2 separate regions of the Homo sapiens genome follow, and region 2 is linked to region 1. Evidence: promoter capture Hi-C in 16 types of primary human blood cells and fetal thymus (Javierre and others, 2016). All regions are on one chromosome and are shown on one strand. Each heading gives the region's core, a stretch centred on a gene start or on the middle of the fragment in contact. The rest is flanking DNA. Distances are from core to core; before and after follow the strand shown. Region 1 holds the start of LINC01590 (long intergenic non-protein coding RNA 1590). Region 2 has its middle 15 kb from the start of CGA.

Region 1 (7,903 bases), core at 1,713-4,212:
CGGCGATACTGGGTTTAGGGTCCTAAACCTTCACCTCTAACTAGTTCCAAAACATTTCCACCACTGCAAAAAGAAACTTCATACTTATCAAGCAGTAACTCCCCATTTCTCCATTCCCCCACTGCTTACACCTGACAAAGCTCTCAATACTCTATGGAAGTCTATTTTCCTGTCTGTCTCTCCCACTAGACCATAGCTCTTTGAAGACAGGGAGCATACCTTGTTGAGTTCCCCACACCTAAGAAGAGAGCCTGGGATGTAATAGTCACAGTTGACCATCTGGGTTAAAGAGGTGAGTATAGAAGTGAGTAGGTTAAAAAAGAGGGTGGGGGGAGATTTTTAAACATCTTTAAATTAATGTCTTTACTAAAGGGTTAGAATGATTTCAGAAGGAAATTACAATTTTGAAGGGAAAGGAAAAGACATTGAAATTACAGGTTTCAGAAGAAGAGCTTCCTCTGACTCCAGCTTTGGCTCTCCTGCCTTGGGATCCCCAACCCACCCCCAAGCACCCTTGTATGCATTCCTCAGGAAGAGGGATGTTGTTCTCAGTGTTTTCCTCTTCCATCCGTGCCTCAAACTAGGCAGCTTCCAATGGTGCCCTGGGCTTCAGAAGGTGGCCACTGAGCTGACCTCTAGGCTTGCAGGCTTCCTAGGAGAGCAGGTAGTGGAGGTGGGTATGGGGGATGGTGACTGGGCTCCAGTTTGAATTTCATCTTTATGATTCCCTCCCACTATGGGAAGCATTACGGCATGAATCCCAACGACGAAGTTTAATTTGGGACAGTCTAAACCCTTATTAAAGTCATACTATTTTCTCAATCATCAAGAAAACTGCCTTTCTCTGTAGTCCATAAGTCCTCAATTTTGTGAGGAGGAATTTTTTTTTTTTTTTTTTTTGAAACAGAGTCTCACTCTGTTGCCCAGGCTGGAGTGGAGTGGTACAATCTCACTGCAACCTCCACCTCCCAGGTTACAGTGATTCTTGTGTCTCAGCCTCCCAAGTAGCTGGGATTACAGGCACATGCCACCATGCCCGGCTAATTGTTGTATTTTCAGTAGAGACAGGGTTTCACCATATTGCCCAGGCTGGTCTCAAACTCCTGGCCTCAAGTGATCCCCCACCTCGCCCTCCCAAAGTGCTGAGATTATAGGCATGAGCCACCATGCACAGCTAAGAAGGAATTTTTTGGATCTCCTTCCACCTTTGCTGAAATTCTAAAAAAGCTGCATTCCACTTTTAGCAGCTGTTTTCTTATGGCTGAATAAATGCCAGAGATGCCATCAGATTACTTTAATTCAACTGTCTCTCAGTTGACGAGGGCTGAACTGTCAGTTTCCTCTTGGCACAATGCAAGTAGAAAGATAGTAATAAGTGGCTGGGAGCAGTGGCTCATGCCTGTAATCCCAGCACTTTGGGAGGCCTAGGTGGGTGGATCACGTGAGGTCAGGAGTTCGAGACCAACCCGGCCAACGTACAGAAACCCCATCTCTACTAAAAATACAAAAATTAGCCAGGCATGGTGGCACTTGCCTGTAATCCCAGCTATTCAGGAGGCTGAGGCAGGAGAATCACTTGAACCTGGGAAGCGGAGGTTGGGGTGAGCCAAGATCACGCCATTGCACTCCAGCCTGGGAGACAGAGTGCAAGACTCCATCTCAAAAAAAGAAAAGAAAAGAAAAAGAAAGAAAGATAGTAATAACTCACCTGAATTTCTCGTCAGCACTTCAGGATCATGATCTCTAACACTCATCTTCTCTCTGTCACACTCAGGGTTGGGGTGCAGCCCCAGCTGAGGTCTGAGGACAGTGGGTGGATGTGGGGCAGGGAGCTGGAAGAACACTGGAGAGACAGCAGGTAAATGAGACATGGCTTTATTCAGCAGCCCCTTCACAGGGTCAGTGTTACATTTATACACTACACAAACACTAGTGGCTGAGAGCCAGGTGGGGAGCTGCTCTATGTTATGCCTACATGGCTGTGACTATATAAGACACAGGACTGTGCACTTGCACCCCAATCCCGCTGAGATGTCTAGGCTGTTTACCTCGGCCTATTCCTGCTACCCTATGCCTGCTTGGCTACAGCACAGCCATGTTCCTTACACTCTCCAAACCTGTCCCACTCTCTGCATTCTTTATGGGATGAATTGGCATTGATTTAATAGCTGGCTCAAACCTGATCCCACTTCCCCCACTCCCTCTCCCCTCACACTCAGACCTGTCACTAAGCCTGTCCAGCCCTTCTCAGCAAGTCTCACATCCATTTCCTTCCCTAATTACTAATGCTCTCACTCAGGCAGGTTATGGGAATCTCCTAACTGTATTATCTGCTTCCAGGCTGGGGCACTCCCACAGGCAAAGCTGATAATATTACTGCCTGTGTACTGCCCTTTCTGCAGACCACAGAAGGCCCTGCAGAAGAAAATTCAGTCCTCCTCAATGGGATGCAAGACCCTCCTGCAACTGGCCTCTGTTTATCTCTAAACCTGCACTGTTCAATATGGTAGCCACTAACTGATGAAACTATTTAAATTTAAATTAGCTAGAATTAAATGAAAGTTAATATTCAATTCTTCAGTTGTACTGGCCAAATGTGGCTAGAGGCTACCGTATTGGACAGTGACAATATAGAACATTTCCATCATTGTAGAAAATTCTGTTGGATACTTACCTTACCCCTACTGCACCTGAACTCAAATTTTCAAATGATCCGCACCTTTGAGCATACTGTGCTTTAGCTGAGGCAACCTCCTTTAATTGGATTACTTACCTTGCCAACGATGCCCTTCAAAACACAGATCAAATGTCATCCTATTCAGAGAAGCCTTTCCAGCCAAGCCTCCCACTCTTGTGCAAGTGATCACTTCCTCATTTGGACGCCCATTGCACTCTCTGCAGACTTCTACCATAGCGCCCCTAACACTCCATGTCACCTAGTGTTCATGTCTGTTTCCCTTTACTACAGTGTGAGCCTGGGCTGGGGTCAGGAACCCAATCTTATTCATTTTTCTAGCCCCAGCTCTAGACTAATGCCTGACATATAGGATATGCTAAGAACTAATTTTGTGAATGAATAAATATTACCAATAAATATTCTAAGGTCAAGATTTTATCAGACTTCAGAAACAAGAGAATGCCCCAATTTAAATGCCTCACTGACAGGTAAAAACTTTGAAGAGGAAATATATTTCCAGAATGATCATCGAAATACTGGATATGCTCTTTTAAGTCGCAATGTCATGCTAGAGTTGTGTTCCATTTACAACTAACCCACGAGAGGCATGACAATTGGAGTGGATAATTGAGATGGTTTGACAGGTATAGCGAGGTGTGGCTGACTGCACACGAAGGAAATTCCAGCTTCAGCAATTATTAGATACACACCTACGACATTAAAAGCATGAAGATTTGGCTAGTCAATTCAAATATTAAGTGTCTAGGCTTAAAAATATTTTATTGGGACATTTTCCATTATAAAAATAAGACATGCTCTTTATGAAAATTTGGGAGTACAAATCTGCCACCCATAGATTCATTAACAAAGGATTAATGTTGTTAACATGTTCATGTAATGACTCACCTTATCTACATTCTTACCATATCTTATGTTACTCCTTTACAGTCAACATTACAACACAGACATTTTTATATCTTATTATGGGCTGTATTTTTAATAGCTGTATAATATGCAATTGAGTGGATGTGTCATAATTTACTGAAGTATTCCCACTATTATGTAGTATATTTTCAAGTTTTCACCATTATAAATAACAGTGGAGTTATTTGAGTATAAGAATTTTTTGTATCGCATGTAATTTATTCAGATTCCCAGATGTGAAATATCTGAGTTTTTAAATATCTGCTTCATTTGCTACTTTATTCCTAGTACCTAGAACAATGCCTATCCCATGGTAGGTATTTTATTAATAATTGTTTAATGAATATGAGATGTTAATTAAGTGGAAAAAAGCTGGCTTGATATGTAGACACCAAAAGCATGTCATAGGCATGTCTTGTGACAGGTTCCAGGGAAGACTTTGTCCCCACTTTTAAAAAAATTAATAAATTTTATTTTTTAGAGCAATTTTAGGTTCACAGCAGTATTGAGTAGAAAGTACAAAGTTCCCGTCTATCCCTATCCCCACACACCTAACCTCCCTGGCTACTGACATCCTGCACCACGGTGGCACATGTTATAATTGATGAACCCATCATTATCACCTGAAGTCCATAGTTTAGGATTCACTCTTGGTGCCGTGGAATCTATGGGTTGGGACAAATGTATAAGGACAGGTATCCACCATTACAGTATCATACAGAATAGTTTTACTGTTATAAAAATGCTCTGTGCTCTATCATCCCTCCCTTCCCCCAACCCCTGGCAACCACTGATCTTTTTACTGGAGTACAATTGTTGAACCACATGGTAAGACTATGTTTAGTTTTGTAAGAAACTGCCAAACTGCTTTCCAAAGTGGCTATACCATTCTGCATTCCCACATGTCAGCAGAGAAAAGAATTCCAATTTCTTCACGTCCTTGGCAGCATTTGTTGTTGTAAATGTATTGTTTTGGCCATCCTAATAGGTGTGTAGTAGTATGTTATTGTTATTTTAATTTGCAATTCCCTAATGACATATGATGTTGAACACCTTTTCATATGCTTAATTGCCATCTATATATCTCCTTTAGTGAGATATCTGTTGAAATTTTTTGCTCATTTTAAAAGTTGGGTTTTTTGTTTCATATTGTTTAGTTTTAAGGGTTCTTTGTATGATGTGGTTAACAGTCCTTTATCACATATGTGTTTTGCAAAAATGTTATCCAAGTCTGTGGCTTGTGTTTTCATTCCCTTAACAAGGTATTTTGCAGTGCAGAAGTTTTCAATTTTCATGAAGCCCAACCTATCCATTTTTTCTTTTATGGATGATGCTTTTGGTATTCTATTAAAAAATCATCATCAAATTCAAGGTCATCTAGTTTTTTTCTGTTATATCCTATAGGTTTTATAATTTTGTGTTTTACATTTAGGTCTGTTATCATTTTGAGTTAATTTTTGTGAAGGCTATAGAGTTTGTGTCTTCATTTTTTTTTCTTTTTTTCTTTTTTGCTTCTGGATGTCCTGTTGTGCCAGCACCTTTTGTTGAAAATATTATCTTTTCTCCTTTGGATTGCCTTTGCACCTTTTTCAAAAGAATTGACTATGTCTGTGTGGGTCTATTTCTGGACTCCTTATTCTGTTCCACTGATCTATTTATTTATTCTTTGGCTTATACCACACTGTCTGGTAGCTTTTCAGTAAGCCTTGAAGTCAGGTAGTATCAGTCAGTACATTTACTTTTCATGTCTTTTCCCTCTTTTACTGTTCTAATTAAAACTTCCAGTTCAATTTTGAATAGTAGCAGTAGTAATACTCAGTTCCACTAGCTTAAAATAAATGCTTGCATTACCCCTTTAAGTATGATGTTTGCTGAAAATGAAAAAATAAATATCATTTTTCTGGTTAAGGACATCCCTTGCTCTTTCTTTCTTTCTTTTTTTTTTTTTTTTTTTTTTGAGACAGAATCTCACTTTGTTGCCAGGCTGGAGTGCAGTGGCATGATCTCGGCTCACTGCAACCTCTGCCTCCCGGGTTCAAGCAATTCTCCTGCCTCAGCCTCCCAAGTAGCTGGGACTAAAGGCATGTGCCACCACACCTGGCTAATTTTTTGTATTTTTAGTAGAGATGGGGTTTCATCGTGTTAGCCAGGATGGTCTCATCTCCTGACCTCGTGATCCGCCCACCTCAGCCTCCCAAAGTGCTGGGATTACAGGCATGAGGTACCACGCCCAGCTGAAAATTTTCATTTTAACAAGCATTCCAGGTTATTCTAGTTCAGGTGGTCCAGGGGTACACACTTTGCAAAAGTAGCTAATCTAAAATACCATGTGCAGCAAGCACTTTTCCATTTTTCAATATTATGTACAAATTCTGTCTTTGATTCTGATGGACAATGATACATGTGTGCATTAGGCATTTAAAAAAATAGGTTATCCCTGTCAGCAACTTAGTAATAAAAATGACTTGAAGTACCAAAAATGAGAGCATAGTTTATTGATACTTATAAAATTTGTAATCAATATCAGTGTTGCAGACTAATTTTTATGATCTGATTGTAATTTAGTCACATGTGATTGAAATCTGCAGTGGCCCAGATTTGCTCTATTTGTAGACTTTCTCCCACAGTACCCCAGAACAGAGGATTCTAGCAAACCTCAGATCGATAAGGAGTAACAGGATGGGACAATGGGTCGAACTGGCCAGAATGGAGCTGAGATTACCAGCTGTAGAATTTAAGCAGGTCCACTTGACGGAAAAAGAGAGACTAACTGGAGCTACTACTTATTTCTGATATTGAATGAAATGAAGCTGATGTCTGTGGAGTCTAAATATCAAGGAATGGTAAAATGAAAAGGTTCCTGGTGGGTTATCCATGCCATTACTAAAGTTCTAGCATAATTTTGTAGTAGTTAGAAGCCCAGATTGTGATGTCTATAGCATGTATGAACGAGGTACTGTTAAAGCTGAATGCCAATCTTTATGAGAGAAGTTGAGGGAACATGTACTGCCAAGGATCTGACCTTCACTCCCAGAATAATAATCAGATTGTCACCCTCAAGAGGTAAGCATAGTTCCTAAGAAGGAAGAAAGTTCCTTCTGCTGCATTAATGTCATCTTTCATACAAAAATCAATGTGAAGAACTGCCTCCATGTTCAGCCTCAATGACATACAGTATGTGACAATTACTCAAGTGACTTAAGTGATTTCCTATACAGACCACAGTGCCACTTTTCTTACATATATGTAAGGGAGCCACCTACTGTCAAAACAGGATATTACAGCTACAAATTCTCCCACTGCCCACCCCCAACTATACAACTGCATAAACTTAGCTGCAATAATTTAGATGAGAATTTTGCAGAATTCAAGAAACTGACGTAAAATAATTTTGGGGGTGGGAAGGAATAATCCACACTTCCCTGTGTCCTTTACAAGTTGGAAAATATTCATTAAGCACTTACCTGTTACGCATTGCAAGTCTCAAAGAGAATCCTGGTATGCTGGAATTAGTAAGGCAGTTTGTAGTAACAAATGCCCCTGCCAATTTCCTTCTTAGTATTTTTGGTAATGCTATTTCTTCCTGAACGTGTCTTTGCCTGTCTCAAGCTTACCTAGCCTGCAAACTCAGCTAAGTCTTACCTCCCCCATGAAGACTCTGCATATCTCCAGCCTGTTGCAGCCTCTCCTGCTTGGATCTCTGTTGCTTTGCTTCATCCCGGAGGCACACTCCTGTGGGCACTTCCTCATACATACACTGCTTCATGGTGATAGATAGCAATAGTTAGCATTTACCATATGTCAACACTGTTGGACCATTTTCCTTCTATTCACTTATTTAATTATCATATTAACTCAATGAGGTGATTACTGTTATAATCCCCATTTTTAAAAAGAAGAAACTGAGGCCTAGAGAGATTTAAAAAAAAACTTGCTCAAGGTCCTTAAGGTTATTAAACAGTAGTGTCAAGATTTAAACCCACGTATCTGCATTTCCAACTTACTTGTAAGCACTTGGTGGACGAGAACTATGTTCTAAAATTCTTTTGAAGTTCCCACATTGCCTAGCCTAGTGCTATGATCTTAGGGACTGATGTCCATAGTTTTACTACAGTTTACTAATTTTCCAGGAAATCAGAAGACCCGAGGAAGAAGGTAGTTTCCCCCCCATTAATCAGGCTGATAAAAAAGAAGTTTGGCAAGGTACTATAGCAATAATAGGGAACTTGTGTTAACCATGTACTATAAGCCTGGCACTGTGCTAAGCATTTTTATATATTATTTAATTCTTACAAGAAGCCT
Region 2 (7,903 bases), core at 2,160-4,659, 320 kb after region 1:
CACTGCAACCTCTGCCTCCCAGGTTCAAGTGATTCTCCTGTCTCAGCCTCTCAAATACCTGGGATTACAGGCACATGCCACTGTGCCCGGCTAATTTTTGTATTTTCAGTAGAGACGGGGTTTCACCATGTTGGCCAGGCTGGTATCGAACTCCTGACCTCAAATGATCCGCCCGCCTCAGCCTCCCAAAGTGCTGGGATTACAGTTGTGAGCCACGGAGGCTGGCTTTTTTTTTTTTTTTTTTTTTAGTAGAGATGGGAGTTTTGCCCTGTTGGCCAGGCTGGTCTCAAACTCCTGGCCTCAAGTGATCCCCCATCTCAGCCTCCCAAAGTGCTGGGATTATAGGCTTGAGCCACCATGCCCTGTTTGTGCATATACATTTTAAGAAACATGAAAGGACACATGAAGATATTAGTGCATTTCTTTATTTACTTATTATACTTTTATTGAATGTATAGTAAATGTTGATATTTTGTTAGATCGCTGGGATTTAGACATCAGGAATCTCTGAAAGATAAGACTAAGAAAATATAATACTGCTTAATCAGAGAAACAATTGTGGTGATCATTGGTTCATTAAAATATTTAGCAGATATTGACTGAGAACCTACTAAGTGTTGGGTCTGGAGAGCTTGTTTGGAGGGCTCATCAGTGATGGAAAGTTTCTGAAACTCCTTGGCTAGAATGTCTTTGTTCATCTGGGACCATCCTATTTGACAGAAAGAATGGAAGGGACACTCGAGGAGTAAAGAGAGAGGACAGGGACATCCCCGTGTCCATTCAGCTCAACCAGGTCAACCCTGGTGAGCACTAGGGTGAAATGTCATAGCCATACTTACCTCCTGTCTTACCATTTGCCAGGCATGGTGCTGGTCCAGCGACGGCCAAGAGGAATAAGACACAGACCCTGCCCTGAAGCAATTTACAGTCTAGTGCAGAAGGGCAGCGTAAGCAACAAATTACAATCAAGAGACATGTACACTATGGGAGAAGAGCGAACTTTGGTGGCATAAAGGGAGGGATAGCTTATTCAGCCTGTTGGGGCTTGTCATAGAGAGCTTCACAGGGCAATATGATCCTTCAGATGGGTCTAGAAGATAGGCAGAGAGATGGGGGACAGTACATTCTAGTTTGAGGAAACAGCATAAGCAATTTTTCTGAAATAAGAAACACTAAGATGGTCACAGAATTTCAAGGAGTTCAGTGTGCTTGGACTGCAGGAAGCTGGTTGGAGGACTGGAACTGTAGAGATAAATATGCACCTGTCAAGAAGGTCCTTGTATAACATGCAAAGAAATATGGATTTTAACTAGGCTTCTAGTTTCTCAAGCTGGAGGGCCTGAGGGTTCCAGAAGCTGCAGAATAAACAAGCACCTTTCTGCAGGATCAATTTTGCTTGAAGACTTGGGGAAATGTAATTTTTACTTCAAAACAAAAATGGATGTATTATAGAATAGAATGCAAAATTGACAAAAATAGGAAGAAAAACAGTGACTTAAAAAGAAACTTCATGCTGAGGGTGGGGCCTTTCGGATCCTGCTCTTCTGAGCCCTCCCAAACCTCCAGTTTCACTCTTGCATTAGGAGTACTTAAATAGAGGAGTTTGAGGAGTTCTGCTAACATTAAAGGAAGGGTAGTTGCTGGACTTCCAAGCTTCTGGATGAGTCTGGCTGAGAAAATAGTTGTCATGACTTTCGGGACAGTCAATTTGAAAGCTCTGATATGAGCTCTCTAGAGAAGAGATTATAAGCTCAGCTATATAAGCAGCAAGGAGGAAGAGATGCAGGTGTGGAGGCTGGCAATTTTGTCTCAAGATCATCTGTGAAAATACCTGAAAGAAATCCTAAGGCAGAGTAAGCACAGGTTTGAGGGGGTGCTTCTATCAAAAAAATTGTCCATCATTCACCTCAGCTAGAAAGCTGCTCTGAATTCTCCCCTGTGAGATTCCTTCCTTATGGCTAAAACATGGTATCCCAAGCACCTGCTTTTTAAATGACAACACTCCCAGGAGATGCAATGTGGTTGGCCATAAACAGTTTAATGAACTATTACACAAGTTTAACAGACTATCAGTTCTGTCCACACTGGGAGTTCTGGACCCTTGTTGGCTGGGAAAGGGGGGTGTCTGGCAGAGTATTGAAAAGGATAAAGCAAAGATGCAAGACTTCTACTACTTTGTAATTGTGTCAAGATTTGATGATGAGAAGAAACTCCAAAGTGATTATAGTGATATTATTGGTGACTAGGACTCAAGAAGGAGGTCAATATAACAGTGATGGCACTTGGCCATCGGCCCATCTCCTGGGAGTGAGAGGAAAGGGCAGGAAATGATGAGAGGGAAAGAAAGATACTAGGAAGGGAGGAGAAAGAAGAATGAAGCTGCATAAAAAGTGTGGAGAGGAAAAATGTGTGATGGGAAGAGAGAGAAGCCGGAAAGGCTGCTGGAGAGTCAGTAGCCTCAGAGGTGGCAGAGCTGGAGTCAAGCAGAAAGAATAGACCATTACTCTACTCATGTCCACCCACTCATGCCCACCCCTCTTCCCCTCTGTCAAAATCTAAATAATCAAGATCTCTAGGCTGTATGCAACTATTGTACAAATTGGAAAAGGATGCTTTCTCTGGGCAGGCACAGCACCTTGAGTAAATGGCTTCACAATCATAAGGTGCAGAAAAACATCTTTTCCCTCAGGCAGAGGTGGAGTGGGGTCTGGATAGTTGTTAGCCCTCACTTCCTGGATGGGCACCTTTGTGCAGTACACAAACTGTGCAATCTTACATGGCAGCTCTATCTATAATCTCATCATAGTAATATGACCATTGTTGCATTTTGAAAAATAATGGCCTAAATTGGTGAGAATCTTGACATCTAAGATTCCAAATGTTGATGTATTTTTACCCTAATACTGCTTGGGGTGGGGGATCCTGGATAAAATATTGGTCCAAATACAGTTTTGTTTGGTTTTATTATGCATGGAAAAAGTAGAAGGGACATCCAGAATCTGGCAAAGGACAGGAAGGTAAAACCAAAAAATACACATGCAAATGACCATGAAGCTGACATGAGGAAATTGGCTAGGACCACAAACGTCAATAAGACCAGAGAGGTTGACTTACTTGACAAAAAGTTAAACAACATCAAACTGCCTGACATTAATACAGCTCTTCTACTTTCTTAGAACTTCCCATGTCTAATGCATCCATGTTTTTCACTTAGCCCCTTCCAGACTGAGAGTTGGAACATGTGGCACCATCTTCATTTGACAATTGGATAAACAGAAGTACAAAGCTTTGGTTGTATAGGAACAAAGAATGTGTATAGGAAAAGTGAGCATCTCCATTTCTGAGCTGCTTCTTTCTAATTCCAACTTCCTTCCAAATCTATGACGTTTTCACTTTATCTACAAAGAACTATTTCCCCATGGACACTAACAGAAAACTCTCCTTGAGATTTGCCCAGGTTGAAAACCCATTCTATTAAAAGATCTGATATTTGGTCTGTGAATTGTCTACTAATGCTTTGTCTGGAAGCTTGGGCTTCAGCTTCACCCTTATAGCTCTTCTTCCTTTACTCAACGACTTCTTCAGTTATTTTCTTTCGAAACTTAATTCATATCTCAAAGCTATCCTATCCCTCAGGAGGAGAAACATGAAGAGATTTCTGTGTTGTGGAAGACGACTAGGATATCCATATTCTTCTATTCAAAACTGGGTAGCATGAGGAATTGCAAATTTTAAACGCTGTTTTCACAAGGAACTGAAGCTGGATCTGAGTTCCCTCAGAACAAAGACAGAAGTTAATTATTGCATCAAACTTCAAAATGAGAGACAGAAAAAGAAAATAACTATTGGATTTTAAAAATGAATTTCCCTTCCGAACTCCAGAAAAGCATATGCTCTGAAAAGTATATACTTTTCTATTGAATGTGACTCCCAGGGCTCACTCATCTCTAGGACTTGAAAGCTGAGGCTTTGGGAAAAAGGAGGGAAGGAGGGTCAGGAGAGGAGTCTCTGAAGAAGCAGCCAGAAGCTGGGCACATTATCGAAAATTTGTAAGAGAGTGTTCAACAAAGACATTCTATTGTTTAAAAACCATTTCCGTTAATGGGATGTTAGCAGAAAGTAGAATAGTAAAGTAAAAGCACTAAAACTGTATCAGTTTTCTCCAAATGCTATTGATCAGAAAGTGTGTTTGAATTATAGTCACTTATTTTGCTGTAAATTGTCTGTGAACAGTAATTGATTCTTAGTTAAGTTGACAGCAAGTAGAATTTCAGTACGTGCAAATTTACTTCTGTATACCTTTTTCCCAGTTGCAACTCATGTTGAGGATAACTGGACAAGGCCAGCATTAGGACTAGGCCTAGGAAATGGAGATGAACTCCGGGGCAGAAGTAATGGTTTGCCCAAGATGGCTTCAGAGGGATAAAGGAAGAGGAAGAAAGAAAACCCGGGCGTAACCTAGAAATGTACCACATCTTTGTGAAGATGGAGAAGTGGGACAGGCTGTGTGTATAAAGGGTTGCTGGCAGGCGCTTGGGTTGAAATTATGGTTGGAGGAACTAAAGTCTTAACCTTGGGTTTTAGGGAGATAATTTACCATCTAAATTAAATTATGGTTACCACCACAGTTATTCTAGTGACTATGTTTCTGTGCGACACACTCTGATATGGAAGACAGTGATAACATCAGAGATGCATTCGCTGTTTACATGGGCAGGGTGGGCTCTGAGAGCTCTGGGGTAGGCTCTGTTATTCCTGAAGCTGAAGACACAAGTGCTGGCCACAGCGTGTGAAACTGAGCGTGGCCAAAGAGAAGCCCTCCCTCACTGCCAGCTATGGATTTCTTCAGTCCGCTGCAGAACTCACTGCTGCCCCTTGTGGACAAGTGGTCCATGGAGCTTCTGGAAGAGTCAGTGGGTGAGGCTGGGAGCGATGCTAGGCCGAATGGGTCCAGCTGACTGGGCACATTTGTCTTCATGCTTATGGGATCTTTCTGTTCATTTGCTCCTGATGTGCCCTTTTAGTGACATCCAACTACCTGTGGGGTGGCAGCTGTAATACTTGTGCACTTGGCAAGAAATATTTGATAAGCTAAACCTAAATTCCAAAATTCCTTCAGATTATTATAAGAATTTCAATAATACATTTGTCAATGCAAGGAAAGGAAAAACATTTAGGTTAAATATGTAAGCTCAAATTTCAAATTGAAATATCTGAAAATATTGTATCTGGGTTTCATTCAAATTTGATACCCTGTATTTTTCTCACAACTGTATTTTTTTTAACCAAGCCCCATATGGACATCCACAAACACCTTCTAGTTCATCCTACTTTTTTCTCTGTGCTAGGACATAAAAGGTTTAAAAACAGTTGGCTAGGGGACTAGATATAGATATACAAAAAAACTCCAGCAAAACAAAAATAAAAAAACTCAGAAAACTTCTTTGTGTTTGGTTGCCATCTGCAATAAAGCAAGGCACACAGTAAAGCATCTAATGAATATTCAGGAAAGGGAGATCCTGAAAAACGTTTAGCAAGCAAAGGATGGAAATGGAATTAATTATATAGTAACCTGTTATTACTAATTTAAGATGTGTGAAATGCCATTAACATTATCTTCATTTGGCTTGCTGTCTTTATTGTTTCACATTAGTGAACATAAAAATATTTATATGCGCTTACATAGTAACCATTTTACTATCTATATGTATCCCATAACATTATGTTGTATGCCTTAAGTATATATAATCACATTTATTTTTAAGGCTGGGTGCACTGGCTCACGCCTGTAATCATAGCACTTTGAAAGGCTGAGGTGGGCAGATCACTTGAGCTCAGGAGTTTGAGATCAGCCTGGGCAACACGGCAAAACCCTGTCTCTTTAAAAAGTACAAAAACATTAGCTGGGCGTGGTGGCAGGCCCCTGTAGTCCAGCTACTTGTGGGGACTAAGGCAGGAGGATTGCTTGACCCCCCAGAGGTTGAGGCTGCAGTGAGCTGAGATTGTGCCACTGCACTCCAGCCTGGGTGACAAAGTGAGACCCTGTCTCAAAAAACAAAAGCATCTACTCTAAGATAAATATTCATTACAAAGAGAAAAATTACAACGTTACAGTGGAGAAAGCTGGCTAACACAGCGACTAAGGTTAACTTCACCAGCAATAATGTTGGATACCAACATCATAAGACCCCCCCCCGGAATCATGCTCTGAGAAGGGCTGAAAATGCATGCACTCAATCTAATTATGGAAAAGCATCAGACAAACGATTTGAGGAAAAATCTACAAAATAACTGGCCGGTACTCTTAAAAAATGTCAAGTTTCATTAAAGACAGGGTAAGATCAGTTGCTATCACAGATGAGAGGGGACTAAGGAGACATGACAAGTAATGCAAAGTGAAATTCTTGGATTGGATCCCAGGACAGAAAAAGAATGTTAGTGGCAAACTGACGAAATTTCCATAAAATCTGTATTATTTATTTATTTTTGTTTACTTATTTTTCAAGACAGGGTCTCATTCTGTCACCCAGGCTACAGTGCGGTGACCTGATCTCGGCTCACTGCAACCTCCACCTCCCGGGTTCAAGCGGTGCTCCCACCTCAGCCTCCCAAGCAGGTGGAATTACAGGTGCATGCCACCAAGCCCAGCTAATTTTTTGTATTTTTAGTACAGACCATATTTCACCATGTGGGCCAGGCTCGTCTCAAACTCCTGACCTCAAGTGATCTGCTCGCCTTGGCCTCCCAAAGTGCTGGGATTATAGGCGTGAGCCACTGTGCCCGGCCTAAAATCTATATTTTAGTTAATAGTATTGTACCAGTATATCTCTTGGTTTTGATAATTGTACTTTGGTTATGCAAGATATTATCATTAGGGAAAATGAGTGAAGCGTATATTTGATCTCTCTATTTTTGCTACTTTTCTGCAAGCCTAAAATTACTTCAAAATAAAAATGTAATAAAAATCCTTTTAATCTGATTTCTGAATTCCTTACTCTGCTGTATTGAGTCCTTTTATGAACATTACTGAACCATTTGTTTGCCAAATCACAAGGCTCTACGCAATTGGCTCCAACCTATCTCTGCAGCCTCATGTACACATATCACTCTGTCTACCTTCTGGCCACACCCAACTTTTGTCTCATAAACACGTGTATGCCTTCATATCTCCTGCACCTCTGGACTGGATGTTCTCATTGCCTACAAAGCTCTCCCTCTTCACTGCATGGGGAAATCTATTAACTGTTCAAGACTCAGTTCATGTGTCTCCTTCTTTGTGATGCCTTCTTGGATTTCTTCTAACAGAATTATTCACTCTCTCCTTTTTTCCCCAATGTTTGTTGAACTTCCTTCTATTATAACACATATTAATTTGTCCACCTATTCATTAAGCAACAAATATTTTGGAGTATCTGCTCTGTGCCAGGCACTGTGGTAGGTATTGGATATACGTTGGTGAATAAAATAATATAGTCCTCCCCTTCATGAGTTTATATAGTCAAGAGGCAAAGACAGAAAATAAACAAGCAAACAAATGAATAGATAAATATATAACTAAAAATTGTGGCAAGGGCTATATAAAAAACCCAATAGCACATAAAAATAGAGAGTAATGGGGTAGGATGGGTAGACATTTTTGGATAAGACAGAGAAGGCTTCTTTTAAAATGACCATTCATTTCATTAAAACATTCTCATTAAAAAATTCTGGTAATACAGAAAAGTACAAAATTCAGTATAAAAAATTACCCATAATGCCATCACTCAGAAACAATAATCATAATCAGGCTTCTTCTTTTTTTTTTTTTTGACAACAGAGTGCTCTGTTGCCCAGGCTGGAGTGCAGTGGTACGATCTCAGCTCATTGCAACCTCAGCCCTCTGGGTTCAAGCATTTCTCCTGCC

The links. The method cuts DNA at HindIII sites, captures the fragments that hold promoters and counts their contacts. A CHiCAGO score of 5 or more calls a contact.
Region 2: a fragment that was not itself captured here is called in contact with the fragment with the promoter of LINC01590 in region 1 in 1 of 17 cell types (megakaryocytes); the score reaches 5.9 in megakaryocytes.

What each region holds. Positions count from the first base shown.
Region 1 is chr6:87,392,183-87,400,085 of GRCh38, reverse strand. It overlaps LINC01590 (long intergenic non-protein coding RNA 1590), which reads right to left and starts at 2,962. Exons shown (of 2, transcript NR_026784.1): 1 at 1,709-2,962; 2 at 345-648. The HindIII fragment of the contact is 8,043 bases long and covers 1-7,212 here.
Region 2 is chr6:87,076,178-87,084,080 of GRCh38, reverse strand. It overlaps the pseudogene RN7SKP209. Among named protein-coding and RNA genes, the nearest start is that of CGA, 15 kb to the left of the region's middle. The HindIII fragment of the contact is 242 bases long and covers 3,289-3,530 here.